Regions from separate parts of the Homo sapiens genome. Here regions 2 and 3 are each linked to region 1. The links are contacts of gene promoters, found by promoter capture Hi-C in blood cells and fetal thymus (Javierre and others, 2016). All regions are on one chromosome and are shown on one strand. The core of a region is centred on a gene start or on the middle of the fragment in contact, and the rest is flanking DNA. Distances in the headings are between cores, read along the strand shown.

Evidence for each region. Contacts are between HindIII fragments. The CHiCAGO score rates a contact against its expected background, and 5 or more counts as called.
Region 2: the fragment with the promoter of MTRF1L here is called in contact with the fragment with the promoter of RMND1 in region 1 in 2 of 17 cell types (non-activated CD4 T cells and naive CD8 T cells); the score reaches 5.8 in non-activated CD4 T cells.
Region 3: a contact is called between a fragment that was not itself captured here and the fragment with the promoter of RMND1 in region 1, in 1 of 17 cell types (fetal thymus). The highest score is 5.5, in fetal thymus.

What each region holds. Positions count from the first base shown.
Region 1 is chr6:151,450,319-151,453,698 of GRCh38, reverse strand. RMND1 (required for meiotic nuclear division 1 homolog) reads left to right here and starts at 1,573. Exons shown (of 12, transcript NM_017909.4): 1 at 1,573-1,683. It overlaps DCPH1 (damage control phosphatase 1), which reads right to left and starts at 1,233. Exons shown (of 5, transcript NM_024573.3): 1 at 1,113-1,233. The coding sequence starts at 1,153. RefSeq lists a silencer at 876-995 and enhancers at 1,156-1,605, 1,796-1,845. The HindIII fragment of the contact is 8,083 bases long and covers 1-3,380 here.
Region 2 is chr6:153,000,674-153,004,508 of GRCh38, reverse strand. It overlaps MTRF1L (mitochondrial translation release factor 1 like), which reads left to right and starts at 1,800. Exons shown (of 7, transcript NM_019041.7): 1 at 1,800-2,082. The coding sequence starts at 1,824. It overlaps RGS17 (regulator of G protein signaling 17), which reads left to right. Exons shown (of 5, transcript NM_012419.5): 5 at 1-50. RefSeq lists enhancers at 1,443-1,552, 643-1,643 and silencers at 1,873-1,982, 1,993-2,052. The HindIII fragment of the contact is 13,608 bases long and covers 1-3,835 here.
Region 3 is chr6:149,750,554-149,754,113 of GRCh38, reverse strand. The region is part of intron 1 of PCMT1 (protein-L-isoaspartate (D-aspartate) O-methyltransferase); the gene reads right to left. Among named protein-coding and RNA genes, the nearest start is that of PCMT1, 2.6 kb to the right of the region's middle. RefSeq lists enhancers at 2,437-2,939, 2,940-3,442 and a silencer at 3,547-3,560. The HindIII fragment of the contact is 3,257 bases long and covers 441-3,560 here.

The DNA of each region.
Region 1 (3,380 bases), core at 324-2,823:
TTAGCTGACTAGTGTTTTTATCTCCAGATCACAGGAGACAATTGTTAAATTACTAGATTGTAACTTGGGTATTTCTTCAAAAGGTTTCCTCAAATGATAGCTATAGAACTTTAAGAAAAAAACTGCACACACTTTCCGACTCTGTGGTGCTTTCAGTACCACCCAAAACAGTGATTAGGTTTTAATGCGCATAATAACTACGTTGATCAGAATTTAATTTTTAAAAATCATTAATAAAAGAAATCACTAATACCTCAGAGGGTGAGCAGGAACATTAAATCAACTGTCACTTGAATTTTCCCAGGCAGTAGGTATAGTAAGTCCTTTTTTGAGATTTTACTTTAATTGGAAAGTATTACTGTTTTCCTAACTACTACATTTCCTGCACCTCTGGAACAAAGTCTCTGGCCAGGACTGGAGTGAGGCCAGAAGCCCTAGGGCGCAAAATTGAAGGAGATACTCTCTATACTTGCATGACCTGAAACAGTGACTGCCTCAATTTGGGGCCATTGGCGCCACTTTGTTGGCCTCAACCTACTTTCTGCCCAGGTTTATTTTCTTCAAAGTGTTCTCGTCTTTTGCAATATTTTGAAGTAAGGACAAATTTCAAATATAAATTTGGCCATTCGATTTATGCAAATGGATGTTATTTGCACGGTCACCCACAACTTTACCCAAGAATCAGTAGCGTGACGACTATAAAGCAAAAAACTAGACAGTTCTTACTGTGAGATTACGATTTGATCAACAACAGGGAGAAACCCGTTTCTTAATAGCGCTGAGATCCCCAACTCTTACGCAGAATTTTAACGCCCCCAAAGCGCGTCTATTAAAGTGAATAAATAAAAAGTGACCGCCAGGAACAGACCGCGAAGCTGACCCCTGTCCTGATCCTTACGAGCAGCCGCCGCGGGCAGGCTCCCTCCCCGGGGCCGCCTCCCTTCGCCTCCGAGCCAGTCCGCGAAACCCGCAAAGGCGCCCCGGAAAGCCGCGCCCGGCGGCGGGACTCGAACGCAGCCCACCGGGGAGCGGGCGCCCTCCGCTTAGTCCCCACAGGCTCCCGGCGAGGCCCGGCTTTCCGCAAAAGTGGGGAGGAGAAAAGCTAGACTAACCCCACGTCCTGTCCTGAGAGAGACGCCGGGACGACAGCCATCACTTTCCGCGATCCCGGCCGCAAAGCTCGGCTGTTCAATCGCCGCAGAAACAGAGGCGGTACCGCCGCGAAGGAGGAGCTGAGAATGGGGGTGGTGTGGCTTTAAAAAAAAAGTGCTTTTGAATAAAGAAACTTTATTTGGTGCCCGATCAAACGGCAAACAGTGGCTCGCCAGAAGACCCAATCTTCCGGGGACGAAGGCGGGGCCAGCGGAGGGCGACTAGAGGAGCGGATATGGAAGCGAGCGAAAGCCGGAAGCAGGCAAGGGACCGGGAGGTCCCAGGGCCTAGGGAGCGGAAGAGGTCGCGGCGACGCGGCTCACGTGGTCAGACAGTCACGTGGCCCGAGTTTCTCCCGCTAAGTGGGACCAGAGTTCAGTGCGGCTGCGCAGTAGCGGGGGTGGGCGGGAGCGCCCTTCCAGGAGATGGGTTGGCTGCAGTAGTGAGAGGCTGGGGGTGCGGCTCTTTCCCTGCAGTCCTGCCGAGGAAGCGTGCGTCCCTGGCGCTTCCTTCTTCTCTTCCGGCGGAGAGGTTAGTGTATTGCCTTTTCTTTAGCAGCTCGAGTGGTCCGGCTTGGAGGTCTGCGCCCTGGCTCCTGGCCGCCCGGAACGTGTACAGTTACGGGTTACGCCAGTGCGGCTGTGACCCTTTGCCTCTTACCGTGATCTTTGGTCAGCTTAGCTGGGAGTAAAAAGCACTCAATTAATGAACCCTTTTTTTGAGCCAGTGCACCGCGGTAACTGTAGAAATCGATAAAATAATTTTGAGTTTGAGGAATTGAACGGCATACTCCCAAAGATGAGCGCCACTTAGCTCTCGAATCGTAGCCTAGCTGTAATCGATTTTCTTAATTGGTGTAATTGTTCTCTAAAAGTTGAAATGTGCCCGGGAACTGAGTAACTGCCTTGTATTTCATTTTAAAAATTCGATCGAATGCCTACTATGTGCTGGGCGCTATTGTCAGGAGATATAATAGGAAAAAACACAAATCCGTATCCTCAGGGAGCTTCCATTCTGGAAGGAAGACACAAAAATCTGCCCTTTCCTCTTATTTTTTTCCTTTAGCTTTGTGTCTCACGTATTTTACTGATTTACCTCGTTTTGTCTGTCACTCCCAATGCAAGGTTCAAAAGATTCAAAAGATAGGATTTTTGTCTATTTTATTTTCAGCTGTATTGTCAGCAACTAGGACAATACCTGGCACATGATAAGAACTGAGTTCGTTTGCAGTATGAATTAATAAACTAAAAATTAAAGGTGTGCAAGTGATGTTAAACAATGGAGAAATGCAAAGTGGAGGAAGATAAGAGAATGGATGCTGGTTGTGTTTTTTTTTTTTTTTTTTTTTATTGATCATTCTTGGGTGTTTCTCGCAGAGGGGGATTTGGCAGGGTCATAGGACAATAGTGGAGGGAAGGTCAGCAGATAAACAAGTGCACAAAGGTCTCTGGTTTTCCTAGGCAGAGGACCCTGCGGCCTTCCGCAGTGTTTGTGTCCCTGGGTACTTGAGATTAGGGAGTGGTGATGACTCTTAACCAGCACGCTGCCTTCAAGCATCTGTTTAACAAAGCACATCTTGCACCGCCCTTAATCCATTCAACTCTGAGTGGACACAGCACATGTTTCAGAGAGCACAGGGTTGGGGGTAAGGTCACCGATTAGCAGGATCCCAAGGCAGAAGAATTTTTCTTAGTATGGAACAAAATGAAAAGTCTCCCATGTCTACTTCTTTCTACACAGACACGGCAACCATCCGATTTCTCAATCTTTTCCCCCCCTTTCCCCCCTTTCTATTACACAAAACCGCCATTGTCATCCCGTCCCGTTCTCAATGAGCTGTTGAGTACACCTCCCAGACGGGGTGGTGGCCGGGCAGAGGGGCTCCTCACATCCCAGTAGGGGCGGCCGGGCAGAGGCGCCCCTCACCTCCCGGACGGGGCGGCTGGCCGGGCGGGGGGCTGACCCCCCCACCTCCCTCCCGGACGGGGCGGCTGGCCGGGCGGGGGGCTGACCCCCCACCTCCCTCCCGGACGGGGCGGCTGGCCGGGCGGGGGGCTGACACCCCACCTTCCTCCCGGACGGGGGCTGGCCCCCCCACCTCCCTCCCAGACGGGGTGGCTGGCCGGGCGGGGGGCTGACCCCCACCTCCCTCCCGGATGGGGTGGCTGGCCTGGCGGGGGCTGACCCCCACCTCCCTCCCGGATGGGGTGGCTGCCGGGCGGAGGGTC
Region 2 (3,835 bases), core at 551-3,050, 1.6 Mb before region 1:
ACACTGACTTTCTTAAAATGTTTTGAATTAATAAAGAATTCAACAATGTATCCTTAGAAAGTTACTGTTTCCTCATTGGTATATAACACTATAGGAATAAAAGGTACACTTCTATGTGTTACTTAAATTGCTTATGCACTTGGGGGAAAATAAAATTCTGGCTAGATTCTTTACATTGTTCTATAAGGTTTTAATTATTAAAATGTTTCACCTTTTATAAATAATAAAATATATTGTTGAAATGACTTATGTTCTGAGAACTCAACTGAGAGATATACCATGTTGAGTTCAAGTGATTCTCACCATTTCCATGGTTAAGATAAATTCAAAGTTAAGTTCAGACTTGGGAAACAATTGTTCTAATAGAGATAAAAACATCCTGATCAGTCCTGTTCTATCCTCAGATCAGGATTAAAATAAAATGGGTTTCAACAGCAGAACGATTGTATAAAGTTGTGTAGCTTGAATACACAAAGTGAAAAGAACTGAGATAATTAGGTGGAGCCTTTAAGTAGCAAAAAACTATTTTTGCTTCCTGATGTTTGAAGAGTCATTTCATTCTTCCACTCACTCTGCATTTGTTATCGTGCTAAGAGATGAAAAGAGAGAGGCAATGCAAACGTTATTTTCTAAGAATGTTTATACTTAACAGTTTCGATTAGATGACCTAAGGATATTTTAACCTTGATAAGGGTTCCCATTTTTTACCATTTTATTTTTTATGAATAAATTAGAAGTTTCGTACTTCTAATATATCACCTCTCTCAACAGTGAAATACCACTTAGTAGACGCTGCCCAAACCAGTTAGGTAGTGGCAGTTCTCAGATTGAGCGTTTAGCCCTTGCATTCCCAGGACTGTCTTGGTTGTGTTTATTCCCTCATATTTATTTCTCCGTTGAGCTGTGAACAGGTCTTTTGAAAAGTGCAAAGCATTGTGCCAATAAATGTCGGTATTGCTGGCACCTATCCGCTACCAGTTCTTTGGAAAGGGATGAGGGTTGGACTCCTGGAGGCAGATATCTGAAGGCTTTGTTGGGCTGTAGGTTGCTGTAACACGGAATCACTCCACCTCTTTAAAAAGCTGACGATAAGTGGGACTAAGTGAAAATGAATGGGCAGGTGAATAATAAAGTCCTTTGAAAGCAAGTAAATGACGCGGCAGATGAAGGGCACGCACGTCTATTGTGCAAATTCATTCAGTGGTTATCTCATAATACACTTATCAAGTCCTTATTACCACGAACCTCACCCACCGTGGACAAGAGAAACATAAGCAGGAAAAAAGGAGGAGGAATAAACACACGCCTGTCCATAATAAAACTCGCTCTTGAAGACTCAGCGGCAGCCCTGCACCGGAGACTGACGACTTGCGCGGCTGTGACCTCCGCCCTGCAGCGGACCCTCGACTGCCCTGCACTGCGGCTCTGGAGGCCCCGACTCAGTGCATGGGAAAGAAATCCTCACTATCAGAAAACAGAGGGGCAATCTGCTGCTCTCCCTTTCCGGCCAAACACGTCACCCATCAACCGGATACCTACCAAGAGGCTTTCAGAGGAGGCGCCCAAGGTCTCCCAGGCCCGCCCCTCCCCAATCACGCTCCGCTCAGCCCCCTCAACTTTTGGCCTCCGGGAAGTTCGCAGCGTTCTCACGCTTGGCAGGAAGTTCCCGCCAAGGCTTCCGGAAAATCCTTTAAAAAGCAACGCTTGCGCTGGGCGGGGCTTGGTGCGCTCTCACCCTTATCTCCAAATTCTGGGTGTTGTCGCGAGGGCTGCTGTGTCCGGAACTTCCGGTTCCGGTCAGGGTCCGCGATCTCGGACTAAGGATGCGGTCCCGGGTTCTGTGGGGCGCTGCCCGGTGGCTCTGGCCCCGCCGGGCCGTTGGCCCAGCCCGCCGGCCCCTGAGCTCCGGTAGCCCGCCGCTGGAGGAGCTGTTCACCCGGGGCGGGCCCTTGCGGACCTTCCTCGAGCGCCAGGCGGGGTCTGAAGCCCATTTGAAGGTCAGGAGGCCCGAGTTGCTGGCGGTGATCAAACTGCTGAACGAGAAGGAGCGGGAGCTGCGGGAGACTGAGCACTTGCTGCACGGTAAGGGTCGGGCCCGGGGGAGAGGCGTCAGAGCACATTCTTGACTCTTCGTTTGACTTTTCCACTGCCCACACTACCCGAGTTTGAAACTCTTTACTCACTTGCAGCCGTTTTTATTTTGGATCAGAGGTCAGGACATCATTACGTGCTGTGATCCCATCCTCTCCTGTGGGCTCTCTTGTGCTCCTTTGCCACGGCGCTCTGCCGCCTTTTACATGCTTATTAGTTGTGGACTCGGGCAAGAGCTCATTAGCTCAGCAAGGATAAATAAGGCACTGTCCCTGTGATGGGCTCCACAGCGGTGTTTCTCAAAGTGTGGTGTGGAGACCCATTTGCAGTAGTATCAGGGCAGTGCTTGTTAATAGCAGACTTAGGACTCAGAATCTCAGACCTATACGTGGGTAAAGGTACTAAATTGGGAAATTCAGTATGGCCTAAGTATAGAATAGGTGGGAGATGATGTCATAGAAACATGAAGCCAGAAAAATAGTTAAGAACCTTGCAAGACAAAGAATTTGGATTTATTTTTTATAGACCATGGAAAGTTAGCAAATGTTTTTAAGCAGAGAATTCACGTCTTTGTAAAGAAAAGTTAATGGTGGCATGCGCTGAGGATAAATTGGAGTATTCTCCAGAAACGCTGGTGGCTGACAGGCCAGGGAGGAGGCAGTTGAAACAATCCAAAGAAGAAATGGTGATAGGCATAGTTCTGACTCACAAAACATTTTGAGAAACAAGTTAGGATTTAGTGGCTTATGCCCTGAGAAGGATGAGGGAGAGAGTTAGTTCTAAGAAAAGTCTTAGGTTTCTGGCTTCAGCACGAGTGGTACTGTTAATTAAGATGAAAGTATAAAAGTTGGACCGAATTTTTTAAAAAGATGAGTTTTGCATTGAATGCCATATTAAGTTAAAAATACCTGTGAAAAGGAATTCCAATAAAGATATCTGTACTAGTCTAGGAGAAAAAATTACTGACATAGGAGAAAAATTGAGCCCAAATAATCATATGAGAGCTCTCGAGATATACAGTACGTGGTAAATTAAACCTTAGAAGTAGATGAGAACACTCAGGGAAAATGTGTTAAGATAGAAACAAGTCTAACAAGGCCAGAAATACACAGTATTTGAGGAGCAGGCAGAGAAGAAGGCTATAAAAGGTCAAGAAAAAAACAGCCAGAGCTTTGTGACCCTGAAGTAGATAAATAAATGAAGCTGTAGAAGCCAATAGAAAATTTCAAGAAGTAAGAGATCCTTGGCCAGGCGTGGTGGCTCACGCCTCTAATTCCAGCACTTTGAGAGGCTCAGGTGGGCCGATCACTTGAGCCCAGGAGTTCGAGACCAGCCTGGGTAACATGGCAAAACCCTGTCTCTACAAACAATGCAAAATTAGCTGGGCATGGTGGTGCGTGCCTGTGGTCCCAGCTACTTGAGAGGCTGAGGTGGGAGAATCGCTTGAACCCGGGAGGTGGAGGTTGCAGTGAGCCAAGATGGTGCCACTGCATTCCAGCCTGGGTGACAGCGCAAGACCCTGCCTCAAAAAAAAAAAAAAAAAAAAAAAATCCGTAGTACCTGACATAGAAAGGTAAAACAACCTTTTCAGCTCACACTGAAATAAGTCTTTAGATTTGGCAATTTTGTCATTGGTAACTTGAATAAAAATGGTCTTGATATGATTATAGAATCCAGTGTAACAGCTTGAGAGGTAAATTAGAGTTAACAGGAGAAAAGTTATAAAAATGGCATTTTATCTCCA
Region 3 (3,560 bases), core at 820-3,319, 1.7 Mb after region 1:
TCTATAGGGCAAGACTGCTATAGACTTTTTCTAAAACATTATTCTAAAGCATAAAACTGATTTAGCTGATATGCTGGCAGAATTCAACCTTATAATTTTCAATTCTCCATGTCACTGGTTCTCAAAATGTGGTCCCTGGACCAGCAGTGGCACCACTTACAAATCTGTTAGAAATACAAATTCTCAAGCTCCGGCAATCTGTATTTTGAAAAGCTCTCCAGGTGATTCAGGAGATTTTGAAGCATGCTCAAGTTTTAGTCACTGTTCTAAGTTACTTAAGAGTGGTTATAATATAAGCCATGACATAAGAAATCTACCATTACAATCTGAAATATTCTATAAATGATGCATCAACTATGAAATCATACAACCACAGTCCTATTATGATAGATTTTAATACAAAAGGAAAACAAAATATTCTTAACAAATTATATTAAGCTTCATTTCTTAAAAACAAAACAAAACAAAACAAAAAAAACTATTGGCCAGGTGTGGTGGATCATGCCTGTAATCCCAGCACTTTGGGAGGCTGAGGCAGGCAGATCACCTGAGGTTGGGAATTCAAGACCAGCTGACCAACATGGAGAAACCTTGTCTCTACTAAAAATACAAAATTAGCTGGGTGTGGTGGCGCCTGCCTGTAATCCCAGCTACTCGGGAGGCTGAGGCCAGAGAATTGCTTGAACCTGGGAAGCAGAGGTTGTGGTGAGCTGAGATCGTGCCATTGCACTCCAGCCTGGGCAATAAGAGCGAAACTCTGTCTCAAAAAAAAAAAACCATTAAAAATGTAATTTCCTTCCCCTTCTAGTAAGCAGGCCCCTTTTCATTTCAACATCAACACAATCACATTTTTATATTTTTCTAAGATTTCAATTAAAAGCCTTTAATTTAGGAAGAATATACACAGTAGAATAATGAGGAAGGAAGGCAATATTTTCAAATTTTATGTCAATTACAATTTTCACATGAGCAAGTATTACTTTTATAATAAGCTAATAAAAAGAAATCTATTAGCTAGAATTACCTCAGCAAGAAGTTGAAACTAAAGTTGCACAAGTGTTACAAAAGAGGCTAAACAACTATTCTACTCTAATTTCCTCTTACCAATCATAAATCTAGTATAAAACTATTTGCAAAATCAACATCTATGTATATTAAATATTCCTTATTAAATTTCCTGACAGAAAAACATCCTTAGAAATTTCAGCTAAGAACAGTAATGCAATACATTAAAGTGATTATGAAACCACCGGGAAAAGATCTATCTAGTCTTGGCTTACCACAAATTTGGCCCAAAAAAGGAGAGACTTTAAGAGCCTGATTGATTACAAATTTCTGCCACAGCCAAGTGCCTACTATGATAACCTACCGGTGGAAAATTACTTAATCACAATTTGTGTACAAAATGTTTCAGGTACATATACTGCAATAGAAGGCACTGAGATCATGTTAAGGGATTTCGTAAAAAATATTTACAACATATTGAGCTTATGTGCCATCCATGAGAACCCAAATCATACTTCATACTACTGTTGTAGCACATAAATGTCCATTTCCAATCAAGCATCATTCCATAAAATGAACCTGACAATGCTTGACAAAATATTGACATCTAGGCTGGGCGTGGTGGCTCACACCTGTAATTCAAGCACTTTGGGAGGCCGAGGCAGGCAGATCACCTTAGGTCAAGAGTTTGAGACCAGCCTGGCCAACATAGTGAAACCCCGTTTCTACTAAAAATACTAAAAATTAGCCAGGCGTGGTAGTGGGTGCCTGTAATCCCAGCTACTCGGGAGGCTGAGGCAGAAGAATCGCTTGAACCCAGGAGGCAGAGGTTGCAGTGAGCCAAGATCACGCCATTGCACTCCAGCTTGGGAAACAAGAGCAAAACTCTGTCTCAAAAAAAAAAAATGTTGACATCTAAACATTCACCATGGCCAGGTGCGGTGGCTCACTCTTGTAATCCCAAAATTTTGGGAGCCTGAGTCCAACAAATTGCTTGAGTCCAGGAGTTCAAGACCAGCCTGGGCAACATAGCAAGACCCCATCTCATAAACTACCAAAAAAAAAAAAAAAACCCTAAAAATTAGCCTGGTATGGTGGCACCACTGTACTCAGGAGGCTGAAGTGGGAAAATCGCTTGAGCACAGAAAGCAGGGGTTGCAGTGAGCCGAGCTCACACCACTGCACTCCAACCTGGGTGACAGTGAAACCCTGTCTAAAAAAAAAAAATAATCAACATTCTCTCTTACCAAACACTAAAGACTCAGTTTCCACATTAAGTATTGTCCCCCCACCAAAAAAAAATCCAAAATGACTAATATATCAAGTACCGGCCTGGCGCGGTGGCTCACGCCTATAATCCCAGCACTTTGGGAGGCCGAGGTGGGCAGATCATGAAGTCAGGAGTTCGACATCAGCCTGGCCAACATAGTGAAACCCCTTCTCTACTAAAAATACAAAAATTAGCCAGGCGTGCTGGCAGGCGCCTGTAGTCCCAGCCACTCAGGAGGCTGAGACAGGACAATTGTTTGAACCTGGGAGGCGGAGGTTGCAGTGAGCTAAGACCGCGCCATTGCACTCCAGTCTGGGCTACAGAGGGAGTCTCTGTCTCAAAAAAAAAAAAAAAAAAAAAAAGTACCAACCATGTGCCAAACAGTACTCCTAATTTCTCTCAATTACCTTTGTCTGTCTAGCACAGATTTAGGCATATAACGGACATTTAATGGGCATTTATGAAAAAAAGGGATGACTGTTAAATTCTTAGAGAAAATTCAAAAAAAAATTTTTTTTTTGAGGCGGAGTTTCCTCCCTTGTTGCCCAGGCTGGAGTGCAGTGGCAAGATCTTGGCTCACTGCAACCTCCCCGTCCCGGGTTCACGCGATTCTCCTGCCTCAGCCTCACAAGTAGCTGGGATTACAGGCAGGCACCACCACGCCCGGCTAATTTTTGTATTTTTAGTAGAGATGGGGTTTCACCATGTCGGCCTGGCTGGTCTCGAACTCCTGAACTCAGGTAATCCACCCGCCTCGGCCTCCCAAAGTGCTGGCATTACAGGCGTGAGCCAATGAGCCCGGCCAAAAAAAATTTTTTTTAATGGTGCCAGCCGTTAAGGAAATTACAAATCGAGTTGAGAAATAAGACAAACACATGAAAAGCTAAGTAACACAGGACAATTAAAAATACCATGTGACAAGATATGATTACTGCATAGTAGCGAATAATGCTATAAATTCTGACCAGTGAGTTTATTATAGACTGCGGCCCTTGTAGTCTCCCAACAAAACGGGGACGCTATATTTCGATTTAAAAAAAGAAAGTGACACAGCACTCATCCTATCCTAAAATTATCATCAGAAGAAGGAATACAGTAACTAAGGAGAGTGATATAAAGAAACTCCACATAAGGTTTTTAAAGCCTATGGTAGCCCTGAAAAAAGTTAGAACATCAGACACACAACCCTCTGCTGATCCAGGACCTGCAAAGGCTCCTGAAATACAAGTCTCTCAGGAACAGCATCCCCTGTTCTTTCTCCGCCCCGCACGGAGCTTTCCACTGG